Regions from separate parts of the Homo sapiens genome. Here all the other regions are linked to region 5. Evidence: promoter capture Hi-C in human tissues and cell types (Jung and others, 2019). All regions are on one chromosome and are shown on one strand. Each heading gives the region's core, a stretch centred on a gene start or on the middle of the fragment in contact. The rest is flanking DNA. Distances are from core to core; before and after follow the strand shown.

The links. Contacts are between HindIII fragments. The study calls those that stand out against the background at their distance.
Region 1: a contact is called between a fragment that was not itself captured here and the fragment with the promoter of NUFIP1 in region 5, in 1 of the 25 tissues and cell types used here (dorsolateral prefrontal cortex).
Region 2: a contact is called between a fragment that was not itself captured here and the fragment with the promoter of NUFIP1 in region 5, in 1 of the 25 tissues and cell types used here (dorsolateral prefrontal cortex).
Region 3: a contact is called between a fragment that was not itself captured here and the fragment with the promoter of NUFIP1 in region 5, in 1 of the 25 tissues and cell types used here (dorsolateral prefrontal cortex).
Region 4: a contact is called between a fragment that was not itself captured here and the fragment with the promoter of NUFIP1 in region 5, in 1 of the 25 tissues and cell types used here (hippocampus).

What each region holds. Positions count from the first base shown.
Region 1 is chr13:43,893,861-43,897,862 of GRCh38, forward strand. It overlaps LACC1 (laccase domain containing 1), which reads left to right. Exons shown (of 7, transcript NM_153218.4): 7 at 1-72. Among named protein-coding and RNA genes, the nearest start is that of LACC1, 16 kb to the left of the region's middle. The HindIII fragment of the contact is 3,971 bases long and covers 166-4,002 here.
Region 2 is chr13:46,160,859-46,164,867 of GRCh38, forward strand. All of the region lies in intron 1 of LCP1 (lymphocyte cytosolic protein 1), which reads right to left. Among named protein-coding and RNA genes, the nearest start is that of LCP1, 19 kb to the right of the region's middle. The HindIII fragment of the contact is 3,518 bases long and covers 822-4,009 here.
Region 3 is chr13:43,913,926-43,918,052 of GRCh38, forward strand. No RefSeq gene overlaps it. Among named protein-coding and RNA genes, the nearest start is that of LACC1, 36 kb to the left of the region's middle. The HindIII fragment of the contact is 3,808 bases long and covers 1-3,538 here.
Region 4 is chr13:43,301,732-43,305,786 of GRCh38, forward strand. All of the region lies in intron 11 of ENOX1 (ecto-NOX disulfide-thiol exchanger 1), which reads right to left. Among named protein-coding and RNA genes, the nearest start is that of ENOX1-AS2, 150 kb to the right of the region's middle. RefSeq lists an enhancer at 1,546-1,775. The HindIII fragment of the contact is 5,794 bases long and covers 1-4,055 here.
Region 5 is chr13:44,987,085-44,991,122 of GRCh38, forward strand. It overlaps NUFIP1 (nuclear FMR1 interacting protein 1), which reads right to left and starts at 2,387. Exons shown (of 10, transcript NM_012345.3): 1 at 1,941-2,387. The coding sequence starts at 2,352. GPALPP1 (GPALPP motifs containing 1) reads left to right here and starts at 2,454. Exons shown (of 8, transcript NM_018559.5): 1 at 2,454-2,658. The coding sequence starts at 2,571. RefSeq lists enhancers at 1,925-2,563, 2,188-2,257, 2,448-2,637, 2,564-3,200. The HindIII fragment of the contact is 10,586 bases long and covers 1-4,038 here.

The DNA.
Region 1 (4,002 bases), core at 901-3,400, 1.1 Mb before region 5:
ATCCTGCAGACACATTTTGCTTTATGTACTACAACATTCTACAACCAAATAAAAATTATTTTGATTATCTGATTTTGGATTATCTCTGCCAAAGTATATAATGAAAGGTTGTCTCCTTGCTGCTTTACTGAATGAAAAGTGTTGATTTAGTAACTCCAAACTATCAGGTTATTAAATAATCATCTTATTGTGTCTACAAGATAGCTGTCACTCTCACATATTTGTATGTAGGTTTCTAGGACTTTTGGGGTACAACAACAAAGATTTCTAGTAAGTTTTGTTTTTGTTTTTAATTTTATTTTAAATTTATAAATAACAATGGTACCTATTCATGAGATACATAATAATGTTTCCATTCATATAATGTACAGTGATCTGACCAAGGTAATTAGCATATCTATCATTTCGAACATTTTTCTTTGTGTTACGAACATTTAATATGTTCCTTCCAGCTATTTCAAACTATATAATATACTATTGTTAACTATAGTTATCCTACAGTGGTATAGAACACTAGAACTTATTCCTCTTAAAGTTTTGTTTTTAATCTAAGCACTGCTACTAACTGCACATAGGAAATATTGATTGCTATTTTATTAATAAGGGGAATTAAGTTTGTAAGTCAAATAAACATTAATGAAATACCTTTTTGAAAATACTATCAAACTAAAACTTACTGGGCCATTTATCCAACTGTAATTTTAAATTGTGAAAAATAGCACAGTGGCCAAATATGCTATACCCCAGTGCTTTATAAAACAAATAAGATGACCTTACCACTAGGAGGTGGTATTTCAACAAGTAGCTCTACTATTATTTCTTGGTATAAAGTTGAACTAATCTTTTTTTTTTTTGAAAAAAATCAACTTTATTTTTTCTAGGTTTAAAAAAATAGAACCAGCTATTAATTTTTGTTGAGAAAATGCATCTTTTGGTGTTCACATCTAAATTTCTGAAAAGGTGATCTGGTTACTAAAATCATCCCAAATACATTCATAAACCAGATCCACGTGTGACCAGCCCTTTACAAAAATTAATTACAGTTGCCACAGCCTTTACATTCATTCTTATCACACGTTACAACATGCAGATAACACAAAGAAAGGTCAACAAGCTGAAGTAAACATTACAGCATCAGGAAAATGAAAACCCATCTGTATAAAATAAATACAATTTTGTAATAACTGTAAAGAAAATGAAAGCACTTAATAAAAATAATGGCAGTTGAATGTATAACTGTCTCATCTCCCAATCATAAAATAAGTTACTGTAAAATGCATAGACTCCTTACACTTAAAGAATTTGTGCATCACAGTCATGTGAAGTTGAACTAATCTTAAACTCTGTATTTTCTTGTGGAATAAAAAGGGAGGGGAGGACGCATTTAAAGTTAGTGAATGTATTGCTCTTACTTTAGGTATAACGTGGTAGTTCAAGTAGATAAAAGCATTTAGGAACCCTCACCCACTTCTATCTCACTCCTACAGAATCTCTAGTAATTGCTTTTCTGTAAGTAGATTTTTGGGAGAAACTCAGAGAAGCTTATTCTATGTAACATGACAAAACAGAAATAATATCTATATATTCAGCAGCTGGAAGGAAAGATAACAGTGACATACGAGTTATATGCTTTTATATCTCAAAGTGGGATTTGATATTTATTTTTACTTGATTGTCCTAGAGTTATACTTCCAATGTATCCATCTTACTTTTTGTGTGAACTCTTAGAGAATGCTACCAATCTATGAAAGTTCAGCACTTTAAAGAAAGCATTACTCAGTTATTGTGTGTTATCGTGTTTGTATGCATGAGTCTTTGTGTATGTGCTAAATGGCAAATAAGAAATATGTGTGTTAAATATGACACATAGCCTTTTTGCCCTAGCTAATATAAATTAACACACACATAACACATTGGATGCAGTAGAATAATAGATTTCTCTCTATAGATTTTTTAATAAATTATGCAGTAAAGAATGGAAAGCATGGTCCATATGCTTACTGGATGTGTTTGTGTGAACCCTGATCTAGGGCACGTGCATTTCCATTGTAGGCAGTGTTTTTAAAGTTTACTTGTGATTTCAAAGATTGCCATAAGCAATGCATTGTTCTGTGCTAGGTCATTGCTTAATGAAGAAAAAAGAAATCTGCCAGTACTGCTTTTTCCAGATTAACACGTTTGGTTTGAAGTCACAGTGATTACATGTCAACTGTGTTGAGACAAACTTTTCATACTCTCCTTAGATGCATTTTTGTAGAGAAAGAAATGCTTACATCACATTCCCCATGTCCTTTTGCCAAGCGCCTGAGGTGAGCTATGTCTCTGCTGTATTTGGAGCAGACTTTTTGTTTTATTTAATTCTCAGAAGGTTGAGGTGTCCAGTTACTACATTTTGTTAAACAAAATTTCCAGCAGACACTATAGCTCAAAATACCACATTCCTTTCTAACCAAAAACAAAACAAAAGACAAAAAAGGGGAGTAAAGGGAGTACTCTCATTTCATGAGAAACATTTGTAGAAAAGAGATTTGTTCATGGTAACAATTGGGTTTTTAATACCCTTCATTTTCAGAATTCTGCATCACACGCTGCTTCAGTTTACATCTCACCATGCTTTCCTGTTCCTTACGTTTTTAAAGCTCATGTTTTAAGGTTGTATTTTCTTTCTTTTGTTGTTGTTTTGTTTTGTTTTGTTTTGTTTTTGAGACGGAGTCTCGCTCTGTTGTCCAGGCTGGAGTGCAGTGGCGCGGGCTCTCGGCTCACTGCAAGCTCCGCCTCCCGGGGTTCACGCCATTCTCCTGCCTCAGCCTCGCCAGTAGCTGGGACTACAGGCGCCCGCTACCACGCCCAGCTAATTTTTTGTATTTTTAGTAGAGACGGGGTTTCACTTGTAAGCCAGGATGGTCTCGATCTCCTGACCTCATGATACACCCCCCTCGGCCTCCCAAAGTGCTGGGATTACAGGCGTGAGCCACCGCTCCCGGCCAAGATTGTATTTTCTTATCCCTCCCATCAGCCTCGTTTTCATACTTGATATTTCATATTTACAAGGTACCTTCATTCCTTTGGTTTTCTACTTTTCAATACATATCCAGATTTGGCTAATAGAGTTATCTGTTTGACATATCCTGTGTCCCCTCAAATATATCCTCCAAACTTAACTCATCATCTTCTCTCCAAAACCTGCTCCCATCCTGTCTTCTGTCTCAGAGAATGAAATCATTATTCATGCAGTTGCCCAGCCAGAAACCCTGGAGTGTTTCTGAATGCCTCCCTTTCCGTCTCCCCTTCCCTTCCCACACTACTGACTGTATGTCTACCATGTGTTCCCATGTCTCTCAACTTTCACAGACATTCAGGTCATCATCTCTCACCTGTATCATTAGAGCAGCCTTCTGACTAGTCTTTCCTTATTGAATCCCTTCTTACAGTATCATTATTGATTGTTTTAAAATGCAAATCTGGTCATATTACATCTCTCAAAAAATTTTTATGGCTTTCCCACTGCCTCCAAGGTAAAGACCTACTCACTAAAATGTATAAGTGCTGTCATCCTCTTGCCCCTGCATACTTCTTTAATTTCTACCACTCCCCATGCTGTAGCCATTCTGTACTTTTTTCATTTCCTAGAGTATGCCATTAAGCTAGGCCAGACCAAATAGGTTGGTTGGCATTCAAAGACTGACTAGAACTCAGATTTTTGTTTAGGATTATCTTCACTTAGGCTTTCTACTAAATTAGCAAATAGGAAGTAGCAAGGACATCTACAATATAAACATTTACGTAAATAATTACAACACTCTAGTGTCTCCCTAGTTTCTCATGGAGATATGGCCAAAATTCAGTTGTCAATGTCATATATATATATATGTGTGTGTGTATATATATATATGTATATATATGTGTATATATGTATATATATGTATGTGTATATGTGTGTGTGTGTGTATATATATATATGTATATATATATACACACACACACATATATATAGCGAGTACC
Region 2 (4,009 bases), core at 1,331-3,830, 1.2 Mb after region 5:
AGGGAAGTTATCGATTTAAAAAAAAATTTGTGACAGGATGTTGTTTTCAGTAGATTTCTTTTTTATATTTTCATATTATTCTATAGTGCTGTATTTGTTCTTGATGGCCACCAACAACCACACCAAACAGAAAACAGTCTTAATTAACATCAAAACCTGTAGGCCAAAAATGCATTACACTCAATTTTGCAAATCCATATCCATTATCCAACAAATTACCATCCTGCCACATACATATATCAGTGGTTTCAAACTTTTGTTCCACCAAGCAACCCTTTGTTGACAGAAACCTTACATGTAAACCTTACATGTAAGCAAACAAATAAAAATAACAACTCTGAGAGTCTTTGGTTGAAAAAACCCAAATGTACCCCTGCCCCTGCTATCTTATCTCCTTGTCACCTTCATCTGTGGGAACTCCAGGGAGCATGATTTGAAAATCATAGAATTATATATGTCTTCATTTAAATTTAAATGTATTCATTAAAAATATATTTTTGATATCAATAAAAATTTTATTTTATTATTGTCTTACATATCTAAGAAAGTATTGGTACATTGGATCTTTTAAAGGATGACAGAAACTGTCGAGGGGTTAATTGTATTAAAAATACAATCTCACTAACACATCACAATAACCCTAAGAGACAGGCACTGGCTATCTGGCTTTCTTGTCATCTCTCTCTCTCCCTCCCTCTCGTCCTTTTTTCTTTCCTTCTTCCTTCCTTGTTTCCTACCTTCCTTCCTTCCTCTCTTTCTTTTTCAGAATGCCTTTTTCCAAAAATAATTTGAGCTAAGTTACAAAGATATATCCAAACCCAAGAGTTAAACCAACTAAATGATGTAATTGATAAGAAAGAAAGCGTAACTGAAATAAGATGATGGTCGGGAGGAACTCTAATACTTAAAATACATGCCTAAGACCCCGCATGTTTTGCTACAAGTAGGCTGAAAATCTATCTCCAAGTTCTCTAGAAGCTAAGGCAAAAAGGAAAGTATCATCGGTTATACAATTCACTATCTATGAGACAAACCAATTTTCTTAGGGCAGCAGATCTGATGTCTGACAGCAAAATCTTCACACAGGCTTTAAGAAGAGGCCATTTGTGGGATGGGGTAAACACAGGTTTTGTGTTTCTTACAATGTCCTTCAATATAGGCTGATGGCATAGGTATGTATATTCTCATTGTATAGATCAGAAAACAGTATCTCAGAGAAGTTAAGATACAGATCTCAAATCACTCAGCTGGGTGGAGAAGCAGCCAAAACTCCAATCCCCAAGTCTTTTCTCCTCTCCCAGGCTGTCTACTCGGGTTCTCTGCCTTCATGTTCCTGTTAGACACACATCCCATCCATCCATTTATTCACTAAACAATGAGTTCTCCCTCTCCCTCCCCCTCCCCCTCCCTCCCCCTCCCCCTCCCTCTCCCGTCTCCCTCAACCCACGGTCTCCCTCTCCCTCTCTTTCCACGTTCTCCCTCTGATGCCGAGCAGAAGCTGGACTGTACTGCTGCCGTATGGGCTCACTGCAACCTCCCTGCCTGATTCTCCTGCCTCAGCCTGCCAAGTGCCTGCGATTGCAGGCGCGCGCCTCCAGGCCTGACTCGTTTTCGTATTTTTTTGGTGGAGACGGGGTTTCGCTGTGTTGGCCGGGCTGGTCTCCAGCTCCTAACCGTGAGTGATCTGCCAGCCTCGGCCTCCGGAGGTGCTGGGATTGCAGGCGGAGTCTCGTTCACTCAGTGCTCAATGTTGCCCAGGCTGGAGTGCAGTGGCGTGATCTCGGCTAGCTACAACCTCCACCTCCCAGCCGCCTGCCTTGGCCTCCCAAAGTGCCGAGATTGCAGCCTCTGCCCAGCCGCCACCCCTTCCGGGAAGTGAGGAGCGTCTCTGCCTGGCCGCCCATCGTCTGAGATGTGGGGAGCGCCTCTGCCCCGCCGCCCCGTCTGGGATGTGAGGAGCGCCTCTGCCCGGCCGCGACCCCGTCTGGGAGGTGAGGAGCGTCTCTGCACGGCTGCCCCGTCTGAGAAGTGAGGAGCCCCTCCGCCCGGCAGCCGCCCTGTCTGAAAAGTGAGGCGCCCCTCCGCCTGGCAGCCACCCCGTCTGGGAAGTGAGGAGCGTCTCCAGCCGGCAGCCGCCCCGTCGGGGAGGGAGGTGGGGGGCAGCCCCCGCCCGGCCAGCCGCCCCGTCCGGGAGGGAGGTGGGGGGCGCCTCTGCCCTGCCGCCCCTTCTGAGAAGTGAGGAGCCCCTCTGCCCGGCCGCCACCCCGTCTGGGAGGTGTACCCAACAGCTCATTGAGAACGGGCCAGGATGACAATGGCGGTTTTGTGGAACAGAAAAGGGGGAAATGTGGGGAAAAGATAGAGAAATCAGATTGTTGCTGTGTCTGTGTAGAAAGAAGTAGACATAGGAGGCTCCATTTTGTTCTGTATTAAGAAAAATTCTTCTGCCTTGGGATGCTGTTAATCTATAACCTTACCCCCAACCCCGTGCTCTCTGAAACATGTGCTGTGTCCACTCAGGGTTAAATGGATTAAGGGCGGTGCCAGATGTGCTTTGTTAAACAGATGCTTGAAGGCAGCATGCTCGTTAAGAGTCATCACCACTCCCTAATCTCAAGTACCCAGGGACACAAACACTGCGGAAGGCCGCAGGGTCCTCTGCCTAGGAAAACCAGACACCTTTGTTCACTTGTTTATCTGCTGACCTTCCCTCCACTATTGTCCTGTGACCCTGCCAAATCCCCCTCTGCGAGAAACACCCAAGAATGATCAATTAAAAAAAAAAAAAAAAAAACAATGAGTTATTAAGTATATGGACTATGGATAGCCCCATGGGAGATTTTTAAAACTACAATATAGTGAGCTTGTCCAGTCATTCTAGTAGAAAGCTTTTGCTTTCCTGTGCTCAGAAATCAAGGCTTCTGTTTTAAGGAATTAGTATAGAACTTTGTATTAATATACTTTGCTAAATCCTTGTGACTAACTTGGCTTAGGTCTCTTCTATACCCTCTACCATATCCACATATGCATGAATAGAAGGCTCTCCAGCTCTCCGGCTGTCCAGCCCTTCATGTTTTTAAATGTCTTAAGACCTCTTGGTTCATAGGTGTTTATGGGATTATAAGATACATTCATTCATTTAACAAATATTTTATGAATGCCTACTATAAGCCAGGTGCTATTCTTCATTTTAGGTAAGCACGTCTATATTGACCCAGTTAGTTATCCTGAAAGCATGGAACAATGTCAAAGGTAAGGAGGACAAACAAGATCTCTGACTCTAAACCTGGCCTTATCCCTTGACACAAGAATGTTAGATTTTAGAGCGCTATCAGCAGCTAGCGATAAATATAAGTAGAAGCAGAGAACAAGACTACATTCTAAGTGTCACAAGTAGGGCCAATGAAGAAACAAAACAATTACAGTGTTGGGTAAAAAAAGAAAATCTAAAAAATATCTAAAGATCATGGTATAATGGGAAATTTTTTTTACCATAAAAATTGCAGTGGCCCATTCATTTAAAAGACATAGAAAGTACATGTATTTTAAAATCATATTATTTTTAAACCACAGCAGGTAGGTCAAGATGAAAAGCCTTGAGCATCTGTAACAATATTTTTCTACGAGATTTATGAGTGGAGAGGATAAACTCAGAGAAGTCAAACAGCAAGAACACCTTTAAATTTAAAAAATCCAAAATGCTTCAGTGATTTAACAGCAAATGCAAAAGAGAAGTGGATTAACTTAGTTTAAAAGGTAAAGTGGAGAAGGGATAATCAGCAACTGACATTGCTGTGATACTGTTTGTTGTTGTTGGGCAGAAACATGAATAGATATCTGGAGAGAGTCCCTTTTACCATCAGCATGAGCAGCATATCCTGGAAACACAACCTAACTTTTGGAGACAGAAGGAACCTCATAAATAATTTATTACAATGTCCTCATTTTATAAATAAGGAAACTGAAGTTCTAATGAGAAGAAATGTTTTATCCATGTACAAATTCTCAA
Region 3 (4,127 bases), core at 385-2,884, 1.1 Mb before region 5:
TGTCTCTGTGGCACTTCTGCTAACGGGGCTTTAGTTCTCTCCAGTAAAGCCTCAGAGAAACCCAAATGGGAAAAGTATGACCCTATAAACAGAAAAGACAACCTTTACTATTTGGGTTTTTCTTTTTATAGTACCTCAATTCTGAGTTCCCAGGCATAAATATAGGTAGAAACTGACCTAAAGTCCAATCTACTTTTTAGAAAAATATGTATTCCACAAGATGCAAAATTTAGATAAAATAAATAAGAAACAAGATTTTCAGAACATCAGAGCTATAAAGAAAGATCACCCTCAGTGAGTATAAAACCTTAATTAAGACAGCTATGATAGATTCCTTTTAATGTAAAACCAGTGATTTTTACAGACATTAAAGATCACCTATTTCAACCACTTTATTTTATAGATGAATAAACTCAGTGCCCAAATGGTTAAATAACTAATACAAAGATGCTTAGGTGATTAGTGGCTATATTGGGTGGATTTTAAAATTAATTTTAAAAAACTGAAATAATAATATTTATTGAGTGTTTCCATATACCAGGCACTGTGCTGATCACATTACAGTCATACCCTCATTTAAAATTTACAGCAACTATATGAGGTGGATAATAGGAGATCTCTTCACCAGCTGCCACTGAATTGACTTACTAACTTCACCACTCGTCTCCACTTTCTTCTTCGTCAAACACACGGACTGATGCTGGTACTATGTTAAATGCTTGAGGCTGGTAAATTTATTTGAAAATTTCTTTTCACTTACCCAATCTGCAGTCTGTAGTCATAATCTACGTTGGCATCAGTATCACCTGGGTACTTGTTAAAAATGCAGATTCTCAAACCCCAACCAGACTTACTGGATCAAAAACTGGGGGTGGGGTTTAACAATTTATGTTCTCCATTCAAGAGATTCTGATGCATGCCAAAATAGAACACTACTTGAAAGGCTAATACAGGGGCCAAGCAGAAGCTCCTGGAGCTCCTTCCTCATGCTACCAAAAGAGTAAACCAAAAGCAATACTGCATCCTTGAAGCACCATAGAGATCATTGCCACCACTGAAAACTTAGAAGCTATGTACCTAGAAGCTATGTTTGTTTGGAGAAGTGATTCCTTTCATATTCAGATTTAACATACAAATTTGACTGGATTTTCATGAATGGCAATGGATTATTAAAACTCAACCAATGGTTACTTCAGTTAAGCTGCTGTTTCAGCTGTGGCCTTTTTTATTGAAACAAACTGACACCTCTCTTGGCATCTAACATGTAGTCATTAAATTAGCCCATTTTCCCACTATTCCAAAGAACAATCTTGTCTAAGGCTTATGTCAGCTCTTTGGCTCTGTGTCAAAATTAGGCCCACAAGGACCTTAACTGTCCTAACACCTCACAGAGCATCACATTAGTACACTACATCTGTGACATTTTACTGTTAAGATCTGCATAGCAGGGAGTAACAGATACCCTAGAAACCTTTAAGGCACATGCGTGGCAGTAGCTGGAGGAGAAAATCCATGAACATTTAGGTGCCTACCATGTCAGCGAAGTTTCTAGAGTCAGGTTGTTTTCATCATATTGGATTATTCTGTCCAGAGGCAAACACTGTGCGCCTTTGTGCCCCTACCACTGAGAAAGAGGCACAATGTTTAACAGGTGTCTTTGGATTTTTGAGGCAACATATACTACATTTGGTTGTTCTGCTCTGACTCATTTAGTCACTGACCAAAAATATTTCCAGCCTTGAATGGAGTCCAGAGCAAAAAGAAATCCATGGTTGTACAGACTTTAGTTATAAGAGGCTCTGGCTCTGCAATTTCAGCTTTTCTAAACCAGTGGATCATAGGTTCTTTTTTTTTTTTTTTTTTTTTTGAGACAAGAGTCTTACTCTGTTGCCCAGGCTGGAGTGCAGTCGCGCGATCTCGGCTCACTGCAAGCTCCGCCTCCCAGGTTCACGCCATTCTCCTGCCTCGGCCTCCTGAGTAACCACCACGCCCGGCTAACATTTTGTATTTTTAGCAGAGACGGGGTTTCGCCGTGTTAGCCAGGAAGGTCTCGATCTCCTGACCTCATGATCCGCCCGCCTCGGCCTCCCAAAGTGCTGGGATTACAGGCGTGAGCCACCGCACCCAGCTGGATCATAGGTTCTTTAAGTGTCTGTGGCAGATAAGGAATCTAAATGGAGCCTGCTCCTGCACCAAGTTCAACTAAGAGAATCACGGTGTGAGCCCGTAGGATCTTGGAGCAAGTCTATGACCTCTTTATCAAGTCACTGTTTTCCTTCTGAAAACAGTTTGTGGCTTGCTGCCAGGTCCTGATAGGAGTGAATACCTGACCATAGGTCTACAAATGACCTAAGCTTTCCAATATCAATTGATTGTTTGGATCTAGCTGATCATAAAGTTAAATGTGTCTAGAGATTCTCCATCAGCAAATAAAAATGCTGTATATGACATTGGGCCTGAGCAAAACCCAAAGGCAGTGTTAAGACGTTAATAGGACTTGTTTCCACTCCCATGAATAGAAGGCTGCTCATCACCATTTCTCCCTCAATTTGTACATATGGCCCCATGGGAGTTCCCTATATCATACTGCCTGCAGAGAAAAAAATTTGGTTCTGCCCAAAATGGCACCAGACATTCATAGGTGACATGAGAGGCAGTGGAGAAGGAAAATATTTCCACTAGATTAAACTTCAAATGAACTTGAACTTCTCATGGTGAACTTCACCTAGAAAAAAATACTTTGCTTGAGGAAGTTGCTCTCAGATTATCAATTTTAACCACTATACCATTGGAATCATAAGACATAAATAATAACACATTTATATTAGTAGGTAATCTACTAAGTTCAATGGAAAAATTGACCCAGCTTGAAAGTATAGTCCACTCTGAGAACTTATAGCATAGCAAATGGTGTACATTCTTTAATCAAACACCATCTGTTTTAATAAGCTACACCACAATTATGTTGTCTAGCAAACCACCCAAAACTGTGGTGTAGAGTAATGAGTATTTCTGGCTGACACATCTAAAAGTCAATTGAGGTTTGGCTGACCCAGCTTGGCTTTGGGAGGGCTTGGCACCAAATGTCTCTCATCCTCCTTGGACTACTTGCTGCACAAGACATGCTCTTCTCGTGGTGAAAGGCAGGAGTTCAAGAGAGCAAGCCCGGTTATGCAAGCTCAGTTCAAGCCTCTGCTCAGGTCATGGTCACTAGCATCCTATTAGCCAAAGCAAGGCATATGGGCAAGACTAAATTCCAGGGGTTAGGGAATATACTTTTCTCATCAAAGAGGAGGATAAAGGTGAATATTTGCAGAACAATTCTAATCTACCATACTACCTGAATTTAAAAATGGAATTTTTGTTTTTACAAAAATATTATTCAGTATGTTGTCAAAGGGCTGCACTAGTACAAATAGTTGATTCAACACAATTTCACAAATATTCATTGAATGTTTTTTATTTGTTGGGCACTATGTTAATTATCCAAAATTTAGGAATGGATAAGACATAGTCTCTGCCTTCAAGAATCTCACAGAAGGAACTGTAAACAAAATTTGATGTGATGAATGCAACAAAAGCCTTTACAATTCTCTGAGGTTGGTGTTGTGGCCATTTTACACAGAAGAAACTGATACTCAGAAAGATTAAATGATTTGTCCAATATTATACAACAGATAAAACTGAAATTCAAATTTCAGTTCAAATTTGGGAGTGGGAACTAAAACCTTAAACTCTTCCTATCATTCCACATAACCTTCCCCTGAAAGTGAGCACAGAGGTGATCCAGTCTAATACCTCACTTGATACTGGGCTCTTGGTATCTGTAAGGTGACATAATGCCAACATCTTGGTCAATTGACCCCAGGATAACAGATTTAGAATGAATTACATATGCTTTCCCCTGCTCCATAATTCTACTCTTCTTACTTTGGTTAGATTTACTTAGAGTGCCCATCAAACTAATCTTGATAATAATATTAAGCAGTAAGTCAGATTTGCATACCTCTTTTGGGCTAAGAGAGATCTTAGATGCTGGAGGATGCTTTAGTCAGGCTGCATATTTTTAAAATATGTGAGTCACAGGCAATAACTCTTTAGTGGATAGAACTTTTGTTAATATAAAC
Region 4 (4,055 bases), core at 730-3,229, 1.7 Mb before region 5:
TTCTAAAGGGTGAGAAATTGTATATTGACTCCACTTAGCTTCAGGCCACCTGTTTGTAAACACCACTCAGTGTCATACTGCAGCCCTGAATCTATTCCTCAGACAAGGCTGCCTGGAAGAGGCTATATTATGTTTCTTGGGCCAGAGCGCTAACAGAAAAAAAATCCTAATAATTTCTGACTTAATATAACTTCTCAGTATATTAAAAATTCAGAAATTGGAAAGGGAAACTTTTTATTTCTCTCTCTTCTCTTTCTTTCTTTCTGGAATACTGTACTAAATTAAAGAGTTTTGAAAAAATGTGTCATCAAGCTTCCATAATAAAATTTACCTTATGAGACTGCACAATGAATCCACTATCCAAATAAGTATAAGGATTAAAAAAAAAAAAAGTACAGTGTGCATCTTTCGGTAGGAATTCCTAAGGAGTGCACCGAGTGCCAATAAATGGAATATGTAAGAGACACCCCATGTGGATTACCAATTTCCGATAATAAAAAAAGAATAGAATTAGACACCTTAAATGTCAACCGGACTGAATGTGATTAAATATTTTGTTGGTGATTTTAAAGGCACTGCTGAATCTAGTGGTGCCTCTGGATTACCATCAATTAATTCACCAGCCACCCATTTATGTATTTATTAAGAAAACATGGTGAGGAGCTGTAGCATTCACAAGAAGCTTAAGGCCAGCACAGTCACCCATTTCTAGTTACTCAGTAATTTAGAAAAATTCTGAATACTGGAATTTTCTGATTGGATCAAAAATGAAATAATAAAATTGGAAAAATTTTGCTAGGCAAGATTGTTATACTTCAAAACTTAGCACTAGACTAAAAAATGACCAAAGTGACACTAATGTATGAAAATCAATCCAAAGGTTGAACGGCACTGCTGAAGAAAAGGCTTAAAGGTATTGCGGCATCTTGTTATATTCTTTACTAGATTCTATATAAACCATTATTCTTTATATTAATTATGGTCAAAGTGACCTCCTCTTCTGTCTCCTGTCTTACTGTGTTTCCATGGGAACAGATAATGCCATGCTTAACTTCTTTAAGTAAATAATCTGGAGAAAGCCTTGAAATCTCTTTTACCAGCCTGAGCCAGCCTCAGAAAAATAGTTAGCAATATATGAAAAATGTAAGTTGTTTTGGGTTATGTCCCAGTAAGCTGACAGTCTGTTAATATCTTTTTCATGCTCAGGCAAGATGTAACTAAATAATAAAACATTTTAACATATCGTTTCTAACAATATCTGTGTTTCTCCAGAACTCTTAGTCTTTGTGTGTTTGGGGAACTCTGTGTTTAACATTCCCCCTCCACTTTGCCAGATGTCCTCCTGAAATGCTGGAAGGACGCTGCTGAACTGTAGATTTCCTTCCCACATGCAAAGAAAGTCTTTTTCAAGAATTTCATTGGCTGCTACCCAGGAAGGCAGTTGTACCGATAGCCCCTGAACACAGGAGGGCAGAGGCAGGCTGGCCTGGCAAATGTCACCACAATATCTGTGTGCCTTCAACGGCTGCCTCCTCAGCCACGATCCTGCCTCCTGCTCCACTAGGAAAGGGAGCTGTAGTTATGGCCCAGTGACAGGGACTCTCTCCAGCTTCTATCTGCTTCTCTGCATTCTGAATCTTCTTGTGAGGTGCCTTGAGGCCTTTAGAAGCTATTCTGTGGCAGAGACATTATCACGCTGTGTACTCAAACTCATGCTTCTCTTTGTATAGAGCAGTGTTGCTCCTGAGAGGTGACTGCCCTAGAGGGTGCCATGTGAGCAGTCTCATCAATGGAGTGTGAGGGGGAGTGAGGATGCCTTCTGCACAGTCCCTCAGTCTCTGCCTGCTGCTGGAATAGGCTTGGGTCTCTGAGTCACCACATGGAGGAAAGGTGCCCACAGGCCCAGAATATCTGCCTTGGACTGTTGTGTGCCCAAAAAGTAACACTTTTTTTTTTGGTTAGGCCATCTTTATACAGCAGCTGGTGTTACTCTAACCCAGTGTTCTCCAAACATTGGCCTGCATTACAAGCTCCTGGCGGGCATATTAAAACACACTTTTCTGGGCCCTACCCTCAGTTTCCAGTTCAGTTTGTCTGGGAGGAAGCCCAAGAATTAGCATTCTTCCAAGTCCCCCAGGTGGTGCTGATGCTGCTGGTGCAGAGACCACACTTTGAGAGCCACTGCTCAGACCGCTGCTCATTCTATCCCGATTCCTAAACTGGGGTTGTGGTTGGCTTGTTTGGAGAAATGCTTCTGAAAGAACCACATGCTTGGCTTGTCATTCTGGTTTTATTCCTTGATCTCCTTTTGTATGAGCCCCGACTCCATGTTCTGCACCTGGGAAGGCAGCCCTGTTGCATCCCTGTGCCCAGGTCCCATGAGCTCAGCTTGCCCCGTGCCCTGGCTATCTCCTATGGAAGATTTGGGCAAAAGGCACAGTCACTATTCTGCTTTCTTCAAATAACAGTAGCAGTAATGGGAATAGCAACAGTGGTAGTGACAGCTAATGATTTTTATGTGCCAGGCACTGAGGTAAGCATATTCTTTACACAGTATCCTTTCACCATCATGAAAACATGATACAGTCAATATGATTATTATTTCTATTTTCCAGATGATGGAAGTGAGTTTATGGGAGACAGAGGTTGCTGGTTGGAGGTAAAAGGTGTGGCTCTAGGACTATATTCCTCCATGTAATGCCACCAGGCTAGCTTAGCTCCATGTAAGTGCCGCCCATCCCAGAGAAAGGAGTAAACCAGGGACCCTACTGTAGTGGCTAGTTTGCTCCTAACAGAAGTAAAACATTCAATTTCTGGCTCTATCTGGGGAGTGTTCTGCTGGAGAGAGACTCTGCTATGAAAGCAGAGAGGATGATCCTGTTTTAAAATAAACATGCAGGTATTTTCTGCAGGACAAACTTGGGGATGATTTATGGAGAAGTTAAACTCACTCTTCAGGAAATCTTGAGGCCTGGCTGGAACCACTTAGGGATCCTACTTTCTGCCCTGTGTCCCTCTCCTCTCAAACGGCCACACTGATACCCACTAATCCCAGAGCTCAAGAGCCTGAGTTGCTAATAATGCTTTATTGAGAGAGTTTTGTCCATAGACCCATGCTGATCTCAGGATTCCCAAAGATCCAGTATGAGACTATTCACCCCATCCATCTGAACTCACCTATGTTTGATTTTTAAGGTGTCTGTGCCTTCAGTTAGAATAAAGGTGACAGAAACTCCTCTGCGTTATGCTGACCTCCCATGAACTCTGTCCCCTGAGTCTACTTTGCTTGGGCTAATGAAGGCCAAAGACAAGGACCAGTACCATGTCAGAAGATTAACAGAGGCTTGGGGTCCTTCATCATTGGTAGCCTCATTCTCAGTGGCTGCTGTTGCCATCAGTGCCTCCCAGTGGCCAGGCACAGAGCTGGAAAGTATCCTAGGATGACATCTGCCAACAGCCAGTCTCCTGCTGGAGAGCCTCTTATGGTACCAACAAAGTACAATTGATCTGCTTTTCAATAATACCTGTATCACCACTGATCAATCTTCCTCAAATTGCTCACGGAAATTTCTTCTGCTACATTTTTGCAGGATTATTATTATTACAACTTAGCATTGACATAACATTTCATATGTGCAGTGTGTATTCGAATCTGCACATTAGCTATTATTAGGGAAAGCTAAACAGAAGCACAATGCAGTGTCTATTTCCATCTTTGTGTGAGGCCAGCGGAATAAGGGTAATTTCGGGAGTGCAGGGTAAGCTAGATCCTGTTACGATGATGGCTTAAATGTGAGTCTGGAGGCACAATGGGCAGCAGGTGACTCAGGAAAAAAAAATTCTCTGCTCCTTCCTCCAGAGAGCTCTTCCTGAGGAAGTACTCTGCACCAGCAGCAGAACTAGGAGGTGCTGCTGGGCTGCTGCCACTATGGAGACTTCACATCATGCCTCATCACTTTTCCATTTACATTACTATCCTCTGCTCCGACCCAAAACCATCCCCATTTTCCTCAGAGGAAAATAAGCAAAGGAAAGAGACATGTTCACTTCTTGCA
Region 5 (4,038 bases), core at 1,137-3,636:
GCTAAGATTAGGCTGGGTGCAGTGGCTCACGCTTGTAATCTCAGCACTTTTCGGAGGCCAAGGAGGATGGATCACTTGAGGTCAGGAGTTCGAGATAAGCCTGGCCAACATGGTGAAACCTTGTCTCTACTAAAAATACAAAAATTAGCCAGGCATGGTGGCGGGCACCTGTAGTACCAGCTGCTCGGGAGGCTGAGGCAGGAGAATCACCTCAACCTGGGAGGTGGAGGTTGCAATGAGCCAAGATCACGCCATTGCACTCCAGCCTGAGCAACAGAGACTCTGTCTCAACAAATTAAAAAAAAAAATAAATAAAGTGCCCAGATTATAGGTGTGAGCTACCCTGCTCAGCCTAAAGTATTTTTTAATCAAGGTATGTAAGTTGTTTTTTAAGACATAATGGTATTGCACACTTACTAGACTATGGTATAATGTAAAAATAACTTTTTTGCCCCATAGGATCTGCAGGAAAACATACTTTTACATGCAACGGAAAACCAAAAAAAAAATAATTGTGTGACTTGCTTTACTGCAGTGGTCTGTAACTGAACCCACAAGAGCTCCAAGGTATCCCCAGATCTAGAATCCAACTACTTCTCACCATCCCTTGGGCTTCACCCTGGTCCAAGTCTCCAATATCTCTTGTTTAGAAAAGTAACTACAATAGCTTCCTAACCGGTTTCCCTTTCAGTCAGTTCTCACCAACAGACACATTAATCCTCTTAAAACGTAAATCAGGTCATGTCAATCCGCTGTACTACCCACCTCACAACAGTAAAAGTCAAAGTCCCACGATCTACAAAGACATACCAGGTCTTACCCTCCTCCCCCATCTTCTACAATTATACTCCAGACTCAGTCCTCTGTAGCCACACTGGTTCCCATTCTGATGTATAGCTTCTAAGCCTCAAGACCTTTGCACTTGCAGTTCCTTCTGCCCGTACCCCTATTCTCCCAGTTGTATGCATGGCTGTGATCTCTCACCTCCCTAAAGTCTTCGCTCATATGTCACCTTCCTTATGACTAACAATGACATTTAAAACTGCACTACCTGGCCCGGCGTGGTGGCTCATGCCTGTAATCCCAACACTTTGGGAGGCTGAGGCGGGCGGATGCCTGAGCTCAGGAGTTAGAGACAGGCCTGTCCAACACGGGGCAACCCCCTTTCTACTAAAAATATAAAAAATTAGCCGGGTGTGGTGGCGTGGGCCTGTAGTCCCAGCTACTCAGGAGTTTGAGGCATGAGAATTGCTTGAACTCGGGAGGCAGAGGTTGCAGTGAGCCTCTCTGCAGAGACTGCATAGGCTGGAGTGAAGTAGATCGCGCTACTCTTCACTCCAGCCTGGGCGACAGAGCGACACTCTGTCTCCAAAAAAAAAGAAAAAAAGAAAATCCTGCACTACTTACCATTCTTCTTTGTTTTATCTCTCTCCATGCCACTCAACCTTCTAATGCACAATATTTTATTTTGCTTATTGTCTGTCTTCCTACACAAGAGAGATAATATTAAGCTCCATAATATTTTTTGTATGTTCTGCTCACTGCTATATACCCAGATTCTGGTACATAGTCGGAATTCAATAAATAACTGCTAAATGGAATTAACAGTCAACAGGAAAACATTCTAGTCAGACATATTTTGAGAACAAAGGATTTACAATATTATATAAACTTAGTTGATAAAGCAGCCTCGACTTCCTGGGTTCAAGGAATCCTCCTGCCTCAGCCTCCCATGCATCTGCGACCACAGGCATGCCACCATGCCTGGCTAATTTTATTTTTTTTGTAGAGACGGGGGTCTCACTTTGCTTTGAGATGCTAATGACCAGACTCCAAGAGTGCAGAGGCAAGGCAGAGTAGAGAGAGGAAGCAGAGAAAGGGGAGAGGAAAGAACGGGGGAAAAAGGTAAAGGGGTCGACTCACGTGGAAAAATAGCCTACCTGCAGGGTTGAAGGACTTCTGATGCCGAGGAAACCTATCAGAAGACTGTCTCCAATACCACGATGTGGAAGCATGGAAATTCCAAGGCTGGCCGCTGGGTTGAGGCTGAGAATCAAGGGGAGACTGGGCGTCGAAGGGGGGTTGCGCCCCGGGAAGAATCTGGGCGTCGAAGGGGGGCGGAGCCCCGGGGAGAGACTGGGCCTCCATGGGGGGCTGCGACTCAGAGGAAGGCTTTGACCCGGCTGCGGGAAGCGAGGACGTAAGTGGTGGTGGCGGTGGCGGCAGCATTGCCCAGAACATCCAGCTGTCCCGCGGCGGGGCAGTGTCGCTCAGGGGCCCTAACGTGGGAGTCAGCTCGGGAGACGCATGCCACCCGATAGGAGTCTCGAAATCACTAGTCGGCTCAGCCATACCACTGGCGGGTCCGGAGTCTAGCACGCGACTGTGGAGCAAGCATTAGGCGTCACTTCCTTTACCGTGAACTACAAGGCTCAGCCAACCACAGGCTTTACGTCATTTCTCGGCGCCGGGAAACCTGCCATTCTTCGCTGCTGATCGCGGGATTCTTTTTGGATAGGGTTGACGTTCGTGGATAGACTCATATCTGTGACCAGTGTCCGCCACCGCGGATGGCAAGAGACCTGATCGGACCGGCCCTGCCGCCCGGCTTCAAGGCCCGCGGAACAGCGGAGGACGAAGAGCGGGACCCGAGCCCTGGTAAGCGGCGGCGTCTCCGCTGCCCACCAGGCCCATCTACCCACTCCCTGGCCGGGCCCTGCTCGCTGAAGAAAGTCGGAGGCCTAGGAGGGCGGAGGAGTGGGGAGTGGGCGCGGCCTGACCCGAGAGAACTTTTCTCTTCCCAAACAGTAGCAGGGGGGAGGAGGCTGGGGGACCCTCCTAGAAACGAGCTTTGGCGTGGTTTGGCTTCGTGATGATAATACATTCTCATTTAGCCTTAATATGAGCTGCACGCTGCCCTAACTGACTGATACCCACTCAGTCATTTAAGCCGTATAAGAAAAAAACTATTTTCCCATGTTGCAAATGGGTACGCCCAAGCCCATGCCAGTGTCTAGATCATACTGCTAGCAAGTGATGGAGCGCGACTTAGAAGGAAGCGGTTCTCTTAACCTCTGTGCCATATTGCCTTCTGATTACAAGAACCTTGCAGATCCTGTTCTCTCCAGCCCCCGACCTGCCTTCCTAGCCTCTCATTCTGTTATTGCATCTGACAAACACAGCCCAATACTCAATCCAGTCTGAGTTGCTGCGCAATTCCTTAACGCTCTAGGCTTCTGGGCTTCCTCTGGTTGCATTCCTAAACATAACTGACAAACTTCTCCCCATCCTTCAAGGCCCAACTTAAATGTCACACCAATAAAACCTTTCCAGATTCCCCGAAGCATTGTCATGCCTTTCTTTTTGCCCTCGGGTTTTTTCCTAATTACATTGCATATTTAGTACACTGTATTTGAATAATTTGTCGACATAATCTGTCTCCACCATTGCACTATGGTCTTCTACCTGAACACGCAACAGGCACTTGGTATATACGAAACGAATGCTTCTCGGATTCCGGCATGCATACCTATCTGCTTTAATGTTTATTCACATTTGTAGACTAGCACCGACACCCAGTTGGAGAAGAGTAAAGCTGAAAGAGTAACCCTGCCATTTCTGAATCTAATTTTTCTTCCTGGTCTACCCGGAGGCTATGTTTCTACTACAGGCCCCTTTCCAATATAATTTCTGTCATAACCACTTTAAAAATTATGCCTTCCAGCTGAGCGAGGTGGCACAAGCCTGTAATCTCAGCACTTTGAGAGGCTGAGACGGGGCGGATCACTTGAACTCAGGAGTTCAAGACCAGCCTGGCCAACATGTTGAAACCCCATCTCTACTAAAAATACAAAAATTAGCCGGGCGTGGTGGCGGGCGCCTGTAATCCCAGCTGCTCTGGAGGCTGAGGCAGGAGAATCGCTTGAACCCAGGAGGCGGAGGTTGCAGTGAGCCGAGAGTGCCACTGCGCTCCAGCCTGGGCGACGGAACGAGAGTTTGTCTCAATAAATAAATAAATAAAAGTAAATGTGAAAAATT